Regions from separate parts of the Homo sapiens genome. Here region 1 is linked to region 2. Evidence: promoter capture Hi-C in 16 types of primary human blood cells and fetal thymus (Javierre and others, 2016). All regions are on one chromosome and are shown on one strand. Each heading gives the region's core, a stretch centred on a gene start or on the middle of the fragment in contact. The rest is flanking DNA. Distances are from core to core; before and after follow the strand shown. Region 1 overlaps TBC1D1 (TBC1 domain family member 1). Region 2 holds the start of PGCKA1 (PDCD10 and GCKIII kinases associated 1).

Region 1 (6,780 bases), core at 535-3,034, 520 kb after region 2:
ACACATGCATAACACATCAGCGATTAAACCTTTGGACTTTTTTTTTTTTCAACGTGGAACTCAGGAGTGGCTGGGATTGAAACTCAGCTTTACCTTTGTAGCCATAAACTGACCACCTTGTCTCATCATCTTGCCTTGGGAGAGAAGAAAACTATGGTGAAATCAACATTTCTCAAGTTGCTAAAGCCTCCTGGCAGGCAGGAGCTAAATGGTTCTTTTTCCTCTGCCCCACTTTTGGTCTCAATGGCCGAGTTTCCTGACTCCAAGAAAACCACCTTTGATTATATAAAGGTATTAGGGGCTGGGGAACACTGGTCTTTTGTTACTAGCAATCTAAAGCGCTTAGGAAGAAAAGCCCTGGGGGTGGGGGTCACCCCTGGAAAGTTGGGCGGGCTTTGTGTTAGCTCCAACTCTGGGGCTTTTGTGGAACCTCGGAGAGGGAGGAATTCTTAGATTTCTGAAAGTTGTGCGAAACGGACCCCAGAGGCCTGGAAAGGCGCGTCCCCAGCCTCCAGGGTTTCCTGCGCAGCCCTGGGCATCTCGGAAGGGGGCGACCCCAGCATGTCCCAACTTCCCGCCAGCAGCGGAGCGCGGGGGTGGGCGGGGTCGGCTGCGCGCCCTCCCCTCCTCTCCCCTCCTCCCCCCGCCCACCCCCTCCCCGCGCTCTCCCCTCCCACTTCCCTTTCTCTGCCTGGCCGCCCCGCGGGCGCGACCTCTCGGGGCAGTGACGAACTGGGTGGAGCCCGCCGCCGCCGCCGCCGCCGCCGGGGAGAGCGATGCCCCGGCCCCGCCGCTCCCCAAGCCCGCCCCCGGCCGCCCGCGGGCCCACGGGCCGGCGGCGGGAGTGAGCGGGAGCCGGCGGGCGAAGAGCCGCCGCCCGGCCCGCGATGTCACCATTGTTCAGCTGGGTGGCCAAGGTAGGCGGCGTCGGGCGGGCGCCCGTTACCGGAGCGGAGCGGCAGGCGCGGGGCTGGAACATTTGTAACCTTCGGGCCGGGGCTGGGCCGGGCCGCTGGAGGCCAGGCGCGGCGGGGGGCGAGCGGCGGGCGCGACCAGGTCGTTAGCCGCGCGTTTCTCATTCATTAGTCTCCCAGATCCCTGTGGGGAGGACGGGCGAGGTAGCGGCGCCCATTTCACAGTTGGGGAGACTGAGGCTGTACTCGGGGACCCCTGCGGGAGCCCGAACCCAGCAGGCGGCTCCTCCGGCCCCTGTCGCTCCCCGCGCCGCGGAGCTGCCGCTCGGTGCCTCCCCGGCGCGGGACCTCGCGGAAGTCGACCCCGCGTGTCTCCCTCGCGGGTGTCGCCCTCGTGTGTCTCCCTCGCAGAAGTCGGCTTGCGCTGGGCCGCCTGGACAGGGCGCCGAGGATGCCCAGAGGCTGGTGCCCACAAGGGGCGTCTGTCTTTCGTTTTTAACCCTCTGGTTTCAAAGGGCATGTTCTGAGGTCTGAGTTTTAAATAGAAGTTTTTAACTTTCCATTCCCACAAAGTTTTATTTTCAGAACATCAGCGCCTTCGAGATAACTGGGTGGTGCAAATCCAGGCCAGTTGCACTGTTGCTAACAGGAAGGCATAAGTGTAGATTTCCCGAGTTCCCACCAGTTCGAGAACACAGTAATAGCATCAATAGCATTCTTTTTATCCACTCCTGCAGTGCCAGGTGTCTGAATGTGTTTTAAAGGATGCGACCCTCGCCACCTTGAAAGGCTCGCTGGTCGTTAGGGCATCTTGCTGTCACCCCATGCACTCAGTCCCTTGGCCGGCGCCTTCCCAGGGCTTGTTTCCTGTGTATGGCTGGTTGAGTAATAAGCTCACAACTCGTTAGCCATACTGTGAGGCTTTACCAATTAATAATTTAATTAGGTGGTGGTTATGTCTTGAGTTATCATGCAATGCTTTTATAGTCTTATTTAATTACATTTTTATGAATACCTGTTTGTGAGCAGGTATGGCTTTGCCTGTGATTTAAGTGATACAAAATTGGAGACACAGAAACTAGATAACACTAGTTTTTAGATGGGCAAAAGTTTTTAGGTAGATTTTCTTACTAGGTAAATAACATTCCATTAGAATCACTTCCTGAAACATAGCTGGTGGTAAAATGAGATGACTTTCAAAAACGTTTTGAGTCATTAAAAAGTCATTTCAAAAACCATCACAGACTTTTAGGACGATTGTTAGCCTTCTCCGAGTGTCAGTACGTTGGAAAAGTTTATATAGAGGAAATGTAGGCTGGTAGCTTAATTTGGATTCTGAATCTTGTTATTTCAAAATTATTATTTTTGAGACAGAGTCTTACTCTTGTCACCTAGGCTGGAGTGCAGTGGTGCGATCTCAGTTCACTGCAACCCCCACCTACCAGGTTCAAGCGATTCTTGTGTCTCAGCCTCCCCAGTAGCTGGGATTACAGCTGTGCGCCACCACTCCCAGCTAATTTTTGTATTTTCAGTAGAGATGGGGTTTTGTCATATTGGCCCGGCAGGTCTCGAACTCCTGGGCTGAAGTAATGCCCCCACCTTGGCCTCCCAAAGTGCTGGGGTTACAGATGTGAGCCACCACACCCGCCCTCAAAATTATTATTTCGATTACAGGACAACAGCGGAAAAACTATTAAATGTTTTTGGAGCAAATTCATGTATACCTCTTAGCATACATTTTTAAAATGTGGTTATTTTATATTTCATTTCCTGTAGGTGGTGCATGCATTACAAATTATATCCCGAAATTGAATGATTTTTATAGATAACGTGTTATCCTGTGAAAGATTTTAGAATACGAAATTAGTCTTTGGAAGTTTATTTCTTGGAGTTATAGATTGTAAGAATGATGTTCTATGGAACTGATGTGGTTTACGGTGAAGAGGCAAGTCATTAACACACTTTACATTACAAACTAGGTAATATCCTAAAGACAAAGACAAAAGGCATAGATAATGTACACAATGTGAATAATCTTGAAGTTGTTATATTTGACTTCAGAATGCCCCTTCAGAAACACACAGCTGCACATGAGCACAGGCCTCACACAAACACCTGCACATCCAGTTACGCAGCTGACTTTCCTTTTCCTTTTTCATTTTGACCTTTGCAACTGCAGCTGAACACCTGGTGGGGAAGGAGAAGGGGTGGGTGTCGGTTGATTCACATGGATACCTGAGCACGAATGTGTTTTTCTTTTTTTTTGTTTTGAGACAGAGCTTCGCTCTTGTTGTCCAGGCTGGAGTGCAATGGCACAATCTTGGCTCACTGCAACCTCTGGCTCCTGGGTTCAAGTGATTCTCCTGCCTCAGCCTCCCGAGTAGCTGGGATTACAGGCTTGCGCCACCACCCCCGCTAATTTTGTATTTTTAAATAGAGACAGGGTTTCTCCATGTTGGTCAGGCTGGTCTTGAAGTCCCGACCTCAGGTGATCCACCTGCCTCGGCCTCCCAAAGTGCTGGGATTACAGGTGTGAGCCACCGCCCCCGGCCAAGCATGAATGTGTTTTTCTTGCACGATGCATTAGTATTGTGTGAATATTGAATGTGTAGAGTGGGCAATTTCATGATGTAGGAATAAAGCCAAAACGGGAGAGTTTTGTTTTAAAGAGATTATCTGTTTAAAGAAGAAAGAAAAACATAAGATGTACTTTTAAAAAAAATTGGACATGATCTGGAACATTAGGGCAGGTGTACATTGCATCAAGAATGTGGCTGGGCTTTATAGCAGTGTGATTTCTTGATTAGTCTTTCAGTGGGGACACTTGACTTTTTACGCAGTTTATAAATAAAACTGAACTTCTCAAGCTTTGTGATTTTCATAGTAAACTCACAGATGTCCCCAACAACCTGTCAGTTTTGAGTATATCTACTGTTTCTATGCCTCCATGTATCTGTTAGTCAAAACTGACTGCAGCAGAACTGCCAAGTAACTTCCAGAATTTATTTGGATTTGCACCTGCTTATAAAGTTTGTAGCTAAGATTATTGCTGGTATCTCAAGTTGGTAGATTTTAAATATACATATGTCAGTTTATGAGAAAAAATGGAAAATGAGAACTAAATATAGCCAAGTTTGCTGTGTTTCAAATCCAAGTATAGTTTCATATAGTTTATGGTGTGTATTAAGTATTTACCTTATGAATAAAGTACTTAACTGTGTATTTAATGTATTAATTAAGGCATTTAACTGTGTATTTTCCAGTGCTCATTCAACAAGTGTTTTATTAGGTACTTTTTGTATATAAGCAGTGTTTATGTCCTGGAGGAGTTAATTCACTCTGCACAATAGATTATCCTTTAAAAAGTGTGCACCCTGGAGATTTGTAAATTAAATATTTAAAGATGCATTAAAAAAGGAATCTTTTTTTTTTTTGACCCTGAGTCTCACTCTGTCGCCCAGGCTGGTGTGCAGTGGCACGATCTCGGCTCACTGCAACCTCTGCCTCCTGGGTTCAAGTGCTCCTCCCACCTCAGCCTCCCTAGTAGCTGGGACTACAGGCATACACCACCATGCCCAGCTAATTTTTGTATTTTTAGTAGAGACAGGGTTTCACCAGGTTGGCCAGGCCGGTCTTGAACTCCTGACCTCAAGTGATCTGCCCACCTCCGCCTCCCAAAGTGTTGGGATTACAGGTGTGAGCCATTGCATCCAGCCCACAGAATCCTTTTGTAAAGCAAGTAACTGATTGCTAATTAATATTTTATGTAAAACCAGGTTTTCCGTATTTGGGCATTACTTTTAAAACATTGGTTTATCTAGCCACCATTCATTCAACAGGTCATTTAACAAATGTGTTCAGTGCAGATATTTATGGATAACCTACCTATAATAGGTACTATTTGAGGAGCTGGGGATTTAGCAACCGACAAGCAGACCCCTGTTTTCATGGAATTCTAGATGGGAGAGATAGCAAAGCAGCAAGCAAATAGGTGAACAAGATTATTTCAGATGGTGATCAGTGCGAGGAAGAGAAGTAAGTGGCTCCGGGCTGGGGTGGTGCAGGGGTGGCATTCCATCTGACTGGTGAGAGGGCAGGAAACATGCTCCAGGCAGGCCTCAGGGAGAAGGGAGGTATGGCTGGAATATATCCAGCTGGGTGCACAGCACTGAGCTTTGAGTGGGGAGGGGTAAGGTGGGCCAGGCTGTTTATGGCTCCATAGGCTTAGAATGGGGTTTGGATTTGCTTTTAAGTGTAGTCAGAAGCCGTTAAAGATGTGGAAAAGAGGAGTGATGTCAGCTGATGTATATTTCGGATGGAAGCAGAGGGACCACTTAGGAGGTGGTTTTGGTTCGGATAGGAGGTGATAGTGGTAGCTTGGACCTCAGTAATAAGAAAGGAATACCAGTGGATAGTCATTGTCTGTATTTTGAAATGATGTGACCCAGTGGCTTTGCTATCTTGTTTGTCTGTGTTTGGTGCAAATAACCGAGTAACTAATTGCTATTTATATGTTGAGTACGAGTACAACTTGCCCTTCCATCATCTCTTTCTTCTAAGCACAGCTTCCATGCAAAGTTCTGTCCTGACTCTGGGCTTATTTATTTACCTTTGAGGTTTCCTGCAGACTAGACCAGCCCACCTTGGGTGCCGGTAGGCGGTAGGAGTTGCCCTTCTGTTTACCAGCACACAGCACAGCAGCCTTCCTATGTAAGGTGTGAATCTGACTATAGCAAATATTTAGGCAACAATTTTCTTGTGTTGCTTGAAGTCAGTCCAGTGTTGGTTTGTCCTTGATGTGTGTCCTAGGTTAATGTGATGTATTGTTTTAAAATTTTTTTTTCTTCTGTAGACTCATACTACATTTTATTAGTGGATGCTTGAGTTTAATAAGGAGGGGAGAACTCCTTGTCATAGTCAAACCATTCCTTGAATTTGAAAAATGTGCTGCCTCGGCTAAGCAAAGCTGGTATAACCCTGACCAGGATTTCAGCAGAGTTCCTGTGGAGCACTTTTTATCTGGTAGTGGTGGCAGCTGTGTTTTGGGCTTTGGGAACTCTAGTTGCTTAGAGTGTGCCAGGAACTTGGGCGTAGGTTGGTTTTACTGAAAGAGAATGGAGGAGAGCAGAGATAGAAATCCCACCTAATCCACAAATAGAACACAGCCCAGAGCAATGCCTGATGAGAAAAAAAGATAAAGTATAATTTGTTTCCTTAGACAAATTCTTTAATCTGATTTTAACCTGTATGTGTGTCCCCTGTTCTTCTGTTTCTATCAAAACTCTCCTCATCCTTCATTCCTTTCCTGAAGCACCTCTGATTAATCATTCATTCATTGACGAATGTACTAAGCAGGGCAGAGAATAACGGGAAGGGCAGGTTGTGCCAGGCAGTTAGAGTAGCGTATGCTAAGGCCTGGAGGCCCCTTGGTGGAGCTGCACTCACAGGAGGTTGGTGGGCCTGGAGCGAGACTGCTGGGGGGAGTAGCAGAGGCGAATGAGGACCAGGATGAGCATGGCATACAGACCCCTTTGGTATTTTATTCTGGAGCAGTGAAGACCCATTAGGGGCCAAAGATGATCTTTCCCCAAACTCTTTTTTTTTTTTTTTTTTTTCAGACGGAGTCTCGCTCTGTCACCAGGCTGGAGTGCAGTGGTGCGATCTCGGCTCCCTCCACCTCCCAGGTTCAAGTGATTCTCCTGCCTCAGCTCCCGAGTAGCTGGGATTACAGGCAGGTGCCACCACACCCAGCTAATTTTTGTATTTTTAGTAGAGACGGGGTTTCACCATGTTGGCCAGGATGGTCTCGATCTCCTGACCTCGTGATCTACCTGCCTCGGCCTCCCAAAGTGCTGGGATTATAGGC
Region 2 (7,338 bases), core at 4,203-6,702:
TTTTTTAAAATTAATTCACCTGTTTAAAAGAAAACATTGCATCTCAAAAGGTGAAGATGATTGTTCTTTCTTCCATATCCTCCTTACGGCATGTCCTTGGATAACTTTTCAAAAGGTATCCACACTTTTGGTTGAGTTTAGTTTTCTTAGAAAGTAGAGAAGTAACACTTTACTAGAATAATGAACAAGGAATTGATTTGCTCTAGGCCCAGCTCTGCCATAAACTCATTGTGTATTCCTAGACAGGTCTTTAACTTCATCAGTGTGTTGTTTTTGTGAAGTGCAAAATAAAGATAGTGATAGTTTCTGCTGTAGCCCTCATAGGGACATTGGGAAGCAGTATAAGAAAAACTTCAGCAACATCATGATTATTGATGCTAATAGGAAAAATAAATTCATGTAACCCATAGAGAATCCAGGTCAATTGTATTTCCTCTTGGAAAGCAGTTTAACATGTAAGCGTTCAAAGATGTGATTCAGATAAAAATACCCAGGTCCATAGTGAAAGATGTTTTTCAGTATGTTACTTATGGTTTAGCTACTAGCCAGGGAGGTGGTAGCCCAGAGAAGGCAAACCACATACAGATCACCTGGAGTTGATTATATGAGTCTATGCTTTTGAGCTCTTTAGGCAACACATTCTCATTCCTGTCATTATCAGTTGAACCTCCATGCCACACATTTCTAAGAATTAAATGCCTAGATGGATTAAATGTAGTATGTGAATGTTCTATGTAAAAGCCAATAGAGTATACAAGTGACTTGAATGATTTTTCCTAACTTGTTTGCAACTGATAGCTCATATTGAATGTTTTTATGTAAACTTTGTATCGTTGGGAAGAATTACCCAATCAGAGATTTATATTTTCATAAATGTTACATTTAGTTAAATTTTGTTACAGAGTTGTTACACTAGAAAATTATTTCAGTCTTCAAACAATATACAGTCTTGTGTATGTATTATTTGTATGAATAAAAGATAAACTACTTAGATTGGCGTGCTGTTTTTCTCCCCCATTTTTGGCAGATGTGATTAGAGACCTTCAGTAATAATAATAACTGTTCATGCTTACTGCTTATGTTGCACCAGGCACTGTACTTGGAGCTTTGCATGTACTAAGCCATTTAAACTTCACAACAGCCCTGTGAAGTAGGTACTGTTAGCATTCCAAATGTATAGGTAAAGAAACCTAGAAACGGGTCCAGGGAGAATAGCTGAACAAGATTTCAGTGCACTCTCAGTGTCTTTTTCCTTAACTTTCTCAAAGTACATCAAAACAGAGCATTTAGTATCTAGTAGGCACTTAGAGATCAATAATGACCTGCAAGGTGTTTTCTAACTTGCAGGTGGGAGACTGGGCTAGCTCTGAAGATCACTGAAATTTGCTGCAAACTCTCACGTTTTTCAGGTATACAGAAATAGTTGATGAATTCATTAATAGAAGGATGGGGAGGAAGGAGAAGAAGGGTGATGACTGAGGAGTTGTCTCTCTCATAAATTCCCTTTGCGCGAACGAGCAGGACCAAGGGGAGCCTTCCCACATGCCCTTTCTTCCATCTCTTGCCTCTTGGATCTGAGAATCCACACACGCACCAAAAAATATTTTTAAAAAACAGAAACAGAGGAGTATTGGTGAGCTTAAGTGATGATACATAGGAAATAATCTGAAAGCTAGTATCTAGTTGTCATGAAATAATTGTTCTCAGAGAAACTTTAATGTGTTACGAAAATAAATTATTCTGGTTTATTGCCTGCATCACATGGCTGAGACTAACGTGTTCAAAATTTACCACCACTGAAAACAATTCCATTACTTACAAAGGGTAATATCTTTAGGTTGAAAAGGCTAAACCCCTCTCCTTTTAGTTCTCAAAGAAAATGTAGAGAAGTTAATAAATATTTGCAAAAAAGCATTTCAAATAAATAGAGTTTGTTTAAATATCTTCTTTCCTAGAGCCAAGAACACAACAGTCAACACTGTATGCTTGCTATGCCCAAGGCATTATGCTAGATCCTGGAATGATTTGAAAAGTCACGCATGACTCCTGCCATCCAGAACCCTACAGTCTAGAAGAGACACAGCTAAACCAGATGAGACTGATTTCAAAGTTAGTAAGAGTGAGAGCCAGGTGCTGAGGATACACTACAGAGGAGCAATTAACACTACCTGAATATCGAAAAGGTTGACCCAGAGGAGATAGAGCTGAGGCTAGAAGAATAATTAGGACTTAGCTGTCAATGTCAGAGAGACATTTCAGGTAAAGGAAGCTGCATGAGCAAAAATGGGCATTGAAGCATATTTCAGGCGACTTCAAATGCTGTTGGGATTTTAGACTTTATTCAGTAGTCAATAGTGTCACTGAAAGCCAGGGGCCCAGCCTAGGTCCTGTTGCTCACTACACAGAAAGCCAATCACTAAGGCAATGAGTATTGTCAGGGAAGAAGGCTTTATTATGGGTGATATCAGCCAGAGACAGGAGACAAGACTCAAATCTGAATCTCCCCTGGCTAAAGTTGGGGTTTATATGGGGGGAGAAAACAGGCAGGGCAAGGAAGAGGAGTTGCTCAATAGGCAGCAGGTGTCTAGCATCTCACTGTAACCTCCTATAGGAAAACAGGAATTAGGGAGGGTTAAGGAAGAGGAATTGGTCAACAGGCAGCAGGTGTAAGTTTCTCAAGCTTCAGTGCTATGGGCATTTGGCTTGTTGGAAAATTGCGCTGGTTTCAACAGGGAGCTGGGAAAAAAAGTTTTGGGGAAGGGCAGTTACTTTGTCAGATGGCTTTCAGATGGAAAAGATCAGAAGCTGGGAGACCAGTAAAGACCATGGCCATGATCTCAGTTAGAAAGTGTTAGAACCTGATCTTAGAACCTGCTTAGAGTAGGGGCAATTCAAGATTTATTTCAGGGCTTAATGGATAGAGGTGTTTGATGAAGGGGAGGGAAAACTCAAATAATTCCAGTTCCAATTGGAATTGAGTAGATAGAATTACAAATGTAAAGTGAACAGGGGATGAAAGTGGGGGAAAATCACAAAACAAACTTGGACCTAGAGAGTTTAAAAGTAAGACATCCATCTAGCCCATTAGAAATAGTCTATCTATCCCATGGAGAAAACTCAAATAAAAACCCACTCAGTTCTTTCTTTCTCAGTAAGGAGATTGCAATGGATTGCAAGGAGCCCTTACTGCAATGCCTAATATGGTGTGGGGAGTTTTTTGGGCTATAACATAAACGGATACCATAATGTTTTTAATGTTGTTTGTTTTTTAGAACTCTTTCACAAATTTGGAACCATGTTGATAAATCCACTCAAAAAAATTAGCTTTCCTATCTTTCATGACTCATTGGCTGGGAACAATTTACATGTCAGTGAAAACATGGGCACACCTAAAAAATGAAGTGAATCATGGTGTTTTCACCCTGGTGTGCATCAAGAAACCATAGGTTTTTCTTCCATATGTTTTACAAGGGCCCCTCAGATCTCAATTTGGCATTCCAAGAGATCTGCAAGAAGTACAGATTACACGTTGTATGGACACATGGAGGGTTCAGTTTCAGTGTATCAACATGACAGATTACATAAAACTGGTAATCTAGGGATACAAATAAAAGCAGCACCTCTAGCTTTATAGAATGCCAGCCCTTACTATTTAATAGATGAGGGGAACTTCGCCAGCTACCTGTGCATATTCAGAGCAACGGTTCGCAAACTGGAGTAGGTACCACTTGCTAAAACACAGATTTCTTCACCCTCCCTCCCCAACTATTTCTGAATCAATACGTCTGGGGTGGGTCCCAAGAATTTGCATTTTTACTACATTCTCTCAGATTATGCCGATGCTATTAGTCTAGGAACTGCACTTTAAAATCTAAGGCAGGCTGGGGCGCGCGGTGGCTCAGCTTGCAATCCCAGCACTTTGGGAGGCCGAGGCGAGCGGATTGCTTAACCTCAGGAGTTCAAGACCAGCCTGGGCAAGTTTAGGAGAGCCCACCCCCACCCTAGTCTCCACAAAAATAATAATAATAATAGTAATAATAATAATAATAATACAAAAATTAGCCGAGCATGGTAGCATGAGCCTGTAGCCCCAGGCACTCCAGAGGCTGAGGTGGGAGGATCCCTTGATCCCCAGAGGAGGAGGTTGCAGTAAGCTGAGATCGCATCACACTCCAGCCTGTGTGCAACAGCCAGACCCTGTCTCAAATAATAATAAATAAATAAATAAAATGAAACCCAATACAAATACCAACCCCTTTTTCGACAGATAACCTACTTGATAAATGTATCAATATCCTGTAGACAATTAAGTGTCGACTATAAGTTGGACATGAGTGCCGTTCATTGTGACAAAGGATGTAAAACCACATATAACTTCCTGCAAAAATCTAACACTTTACAGCGTGCAATCCCAGCACTGCAAAATTAGAAGGATTCAAAAAATGGAGTGTTCAAATTCTCAAAAGCCTGGCAAATATCATGTGAATGGGGCTGGCATCATTAAAGTAGATACATTGAAAACCCAAGGACACTATGTCCATCCTTAGATAATACTCTGTCCAGATGCCTCTCCAATATCCTATTTTATTCTCTTGCTGGATGAGTTGAAAAGAAGAGAGAAGAGGGTAAGCTAGGTGGCGCAGTTGCTTAACACTTTTTTTGGCAAGCTCAGCATTTGCTTTGGAGCACAGGTGAAAAGAATGTCCAGTCCTTAAGCAGAGTCAGTTCTCCACCCGCCTTAGGTATATGGATTGTAACAGCTACGAATGTGGAACTCAGTAGATTGGATGCAGTCTTGTGGCCAATGCCCTAAGACCTCAGGAAAAGAAAGGGATGGAGGGGGAGTGGGTGAGGAGGGGACGGGGAACCAGGAGTTCATTGAACTCCCCCTGGGGCCTTTAGGGTGCAGGCGAGTGTGTGCAACTTCCCTGGTTTTTATCGTGGTGGTGGCGCCCCCGCTGTTTCTAGGTCCATGTAGCTCATACAGGGCTGGCCATGGAACTCACAGCAGGTCTAGGCGGCGAATGCCAGAAATAAGGAGGAAACTGAAAAATGCCAAGTTCTCGGGGTTTGGGAGTACACAACTATTTGCCAGCGGGTGCATTTGTTTTGTGTATCCCCGTACTCCAGTCCCTTGATCATAGGAAGCTCCCTTCTCTCCAGCGCAACATTGGAGTAAGCACCCCGGAGTTTCCCGTGATGGCAGGCGGTTGGCGCGGTCGTTTGTGCTCAGAGGCCAACAAGCGCGTGGATTTTCTGCTTCAGTGCGCCCGGGACTGCCACCCCGGCCCCGGGGATGTCGGACATCGTACTCCAGGGTTTCGAGCCCTAGCCCCGCCGCATCCTCGGGGCGTGCAGGTAAAGGGTTACGCGTGTCGGGAAGGCTCACCCGCAGCCCGGGCCACGTGACGCGCGGGCCCAATGACAGCGCTGGGGCGGCCGCTGCGAGCTCGGCGGGCTCAGGGCAGCGCGGAGCCGCTAGCGTCTCCCGGCGCGGCTGCCCGAGGCCGGCGAAGCCATGGGCGCCGGGACCCCGCCGCCGCCGCCGCCGCCGCCGTCTGGCCCCAGGTAGGGACAATCCCCCGCCCCGCGCGCGCAAAGAGGGCTTTAGTCCTGCGGAACTTGGCTTTGGGGCGAGCTTTCCCCCACTTCTCTCCGAGTCGCCTACTTTTAAGTTTAATTTCTTGATTTGCTTTTGCCCTGAAAAAAAAAATTAGAGACGCAATTCAAAGTTTGATGACTTCGGGAAAAGTCACGTAATTCAACAAAGGGGCTCTAAAAGGGGCAAAACTCGGGTGGGGGGAGGCGGACTTTTACAGATTCCCAAAACCAAAGACCAAGGCGTTTGTAAAGCTTGGCGTTTAATTGGTTGTGTGAAACATTTTTGCTTTTAAATCCCTAACTAATGAACTTTCAACGGTGCATGCGAACTTGAAAAAACTGCAAGAGATTTTACCTTAGATCTGTGCCCTCCTCCCCCATTTTAAGTATGTTTTTTAATAAAAAGGAAATGGAATGTGACCTCTGCTGTTTCTTTGAAATGCCCTTGGGTCCCGGTATTTGCCCCCCAGGGGTGCTGGCGGCCTGGGCAGTGGGTAGGGGTGGGGGAAGAGGTCAGGGTGCCAGGAGGCCTCACGTAGTGAAAAGAGGGTGCCAGGTGCAAACAGTTAAATAGTCACAAACTGTTTGCTAAATATTTAATAATTAGGCAAGCATCTCCCAGCTTGGTTACTTAGGTTGCATTGACCTTGGCAGCCCTGATGAGGCGAGATTTTCACAAAGTACTGGTGAAGAATTTTTCCGGTGATAAAAGGCAAGGATCAATGCTTTTTACCCCAGCATGGCAATTGACCTTAAAAACAAAATTAAAACTCCCTGTGATGACTTAGTACATTTTATGTTACTTTCCATGGCAGCATAGATACCTGCCCCATGATGGATATTTGCCCTGTGAATTTAGAGAAAGTTTGTGCTCCAGAGGTGGTTCAAATCATTGAAGAATAGGGCGTTTATTTTCTTCCTGTCACTATTTATGGGAAAGAATTACGGATGGTCCTTCTTGCCCTGGTTTGTGGATGTCCTTGGTGGTTGCAATCAAGCAAGCTCTTATGAGGAATAATATCTGGAGAAAAGAAGAGAAGCATTTGAGAGTTGAATGAGAAAGAAATGGAAAGCGGTTACTGCTTTTAAACATAATAGAGTCTATATTTGTTGCCTACCCCTCCCCCTTCCCCATTTAATCCTTCAGTTGATACTATTTTAGGAAGGATAAGACAGATGTTAAAGATCATAGACCACCTTACTGGTCCCAGCTGTGAAACACTGTCAGGAGGCAGATAATTGAAACAAGGTACATAATTGAAACAATTTGAAGCTCAAAGGTAAAGTTAAGTTCTGGAGTTATTTGTATTTCCCTAAAGTGTGAAGAGTCAGCTAACAGCAAGCTGCCTGGGTCACTGAGCAGAAATGGAACAGATGCTGAGACAGGAAGGGAAGGTGTGGCTTACTTCTCTTCTTGGCCCATTCTGTGTCTATCCTCTGATCCTGCTCCGTGCATTTATTCAGCAAGTATGATCTTGGTCCTCAATGGCTCCGGAGATTTAGATAAATAATGATACCTAAAGAGAAATAGGGCCAATCTTTCCTGTGTTTCAAAGAGCTTTTTGGATATCTGGGATTGAAGACAAAACCTTGCATACCAACTCAACACGTTCCATTATCCTAAACATGGAATGATTCCCTTGACGTCCCACCCAGACCCTCTCTGAGCCGGAAATACAACCTGGCTAAGCTCCGGCCAGAATCCATTTGCAGCCCAAGGGCAGAGCACAGGTAGGG

Evidence for each region. Contacts are between HindIII fragments. The CHiCAGO score rates a contact against its expected background, and 5 or more counts as called.
Region 1: a contact is called between a fragment that was not itself captured here and the fragment with the promoter of PGCKA1 in region 2, in 1 of 17 cell types (naive CD4 T cells). The highest score is 5.6, in naive CD4 T cells.

Annotation. Positions count from the first base shown.
Region 1 is chr4:37,976,613-37,983,392 of GRCh38, forward strand. All of the region lies in intron 2 of TBC1D1 (TBC1 domain family member 1), which reads left to right. Among named protein-coding and RNA genes, the nearest start is that of PTTG2, 20 kb to the left of the region's middle. RefSeq lists silencers at 577-646, 717-836, 957-1,006, 1,027-1,326 and an enhancer at 5,570-5,669. The HindIII fragment of the contact is 3,989 bases long and covers 1-3,779 here.
Region 2 is chr4:37,448,473-37,455,810 of GRCh38, forward strand. PGCKA1 (PDCD10 and GCKIII kinases associated 1) reads left to right here and starts at 5,453. Exons shown (of 4, transcript NM_001104629.2): 1 at 5,453-5,568. It overlaps LOC124900691 (a long non-coding RNA gene), which reads right to left. Exons shown (of 3, transcript XR_007058098.1): 2 at 7,008-7,118; 3 at 5,845-6,622. NWD2 (NACHT and WD repeat domain containing 2) reads left to right here. Exons shown (of 7, transcript NM_001144990.2): 7 at 1-991. The HindIII fragment of the contact is 3,173 bases long and covers 2,679-5,851 here.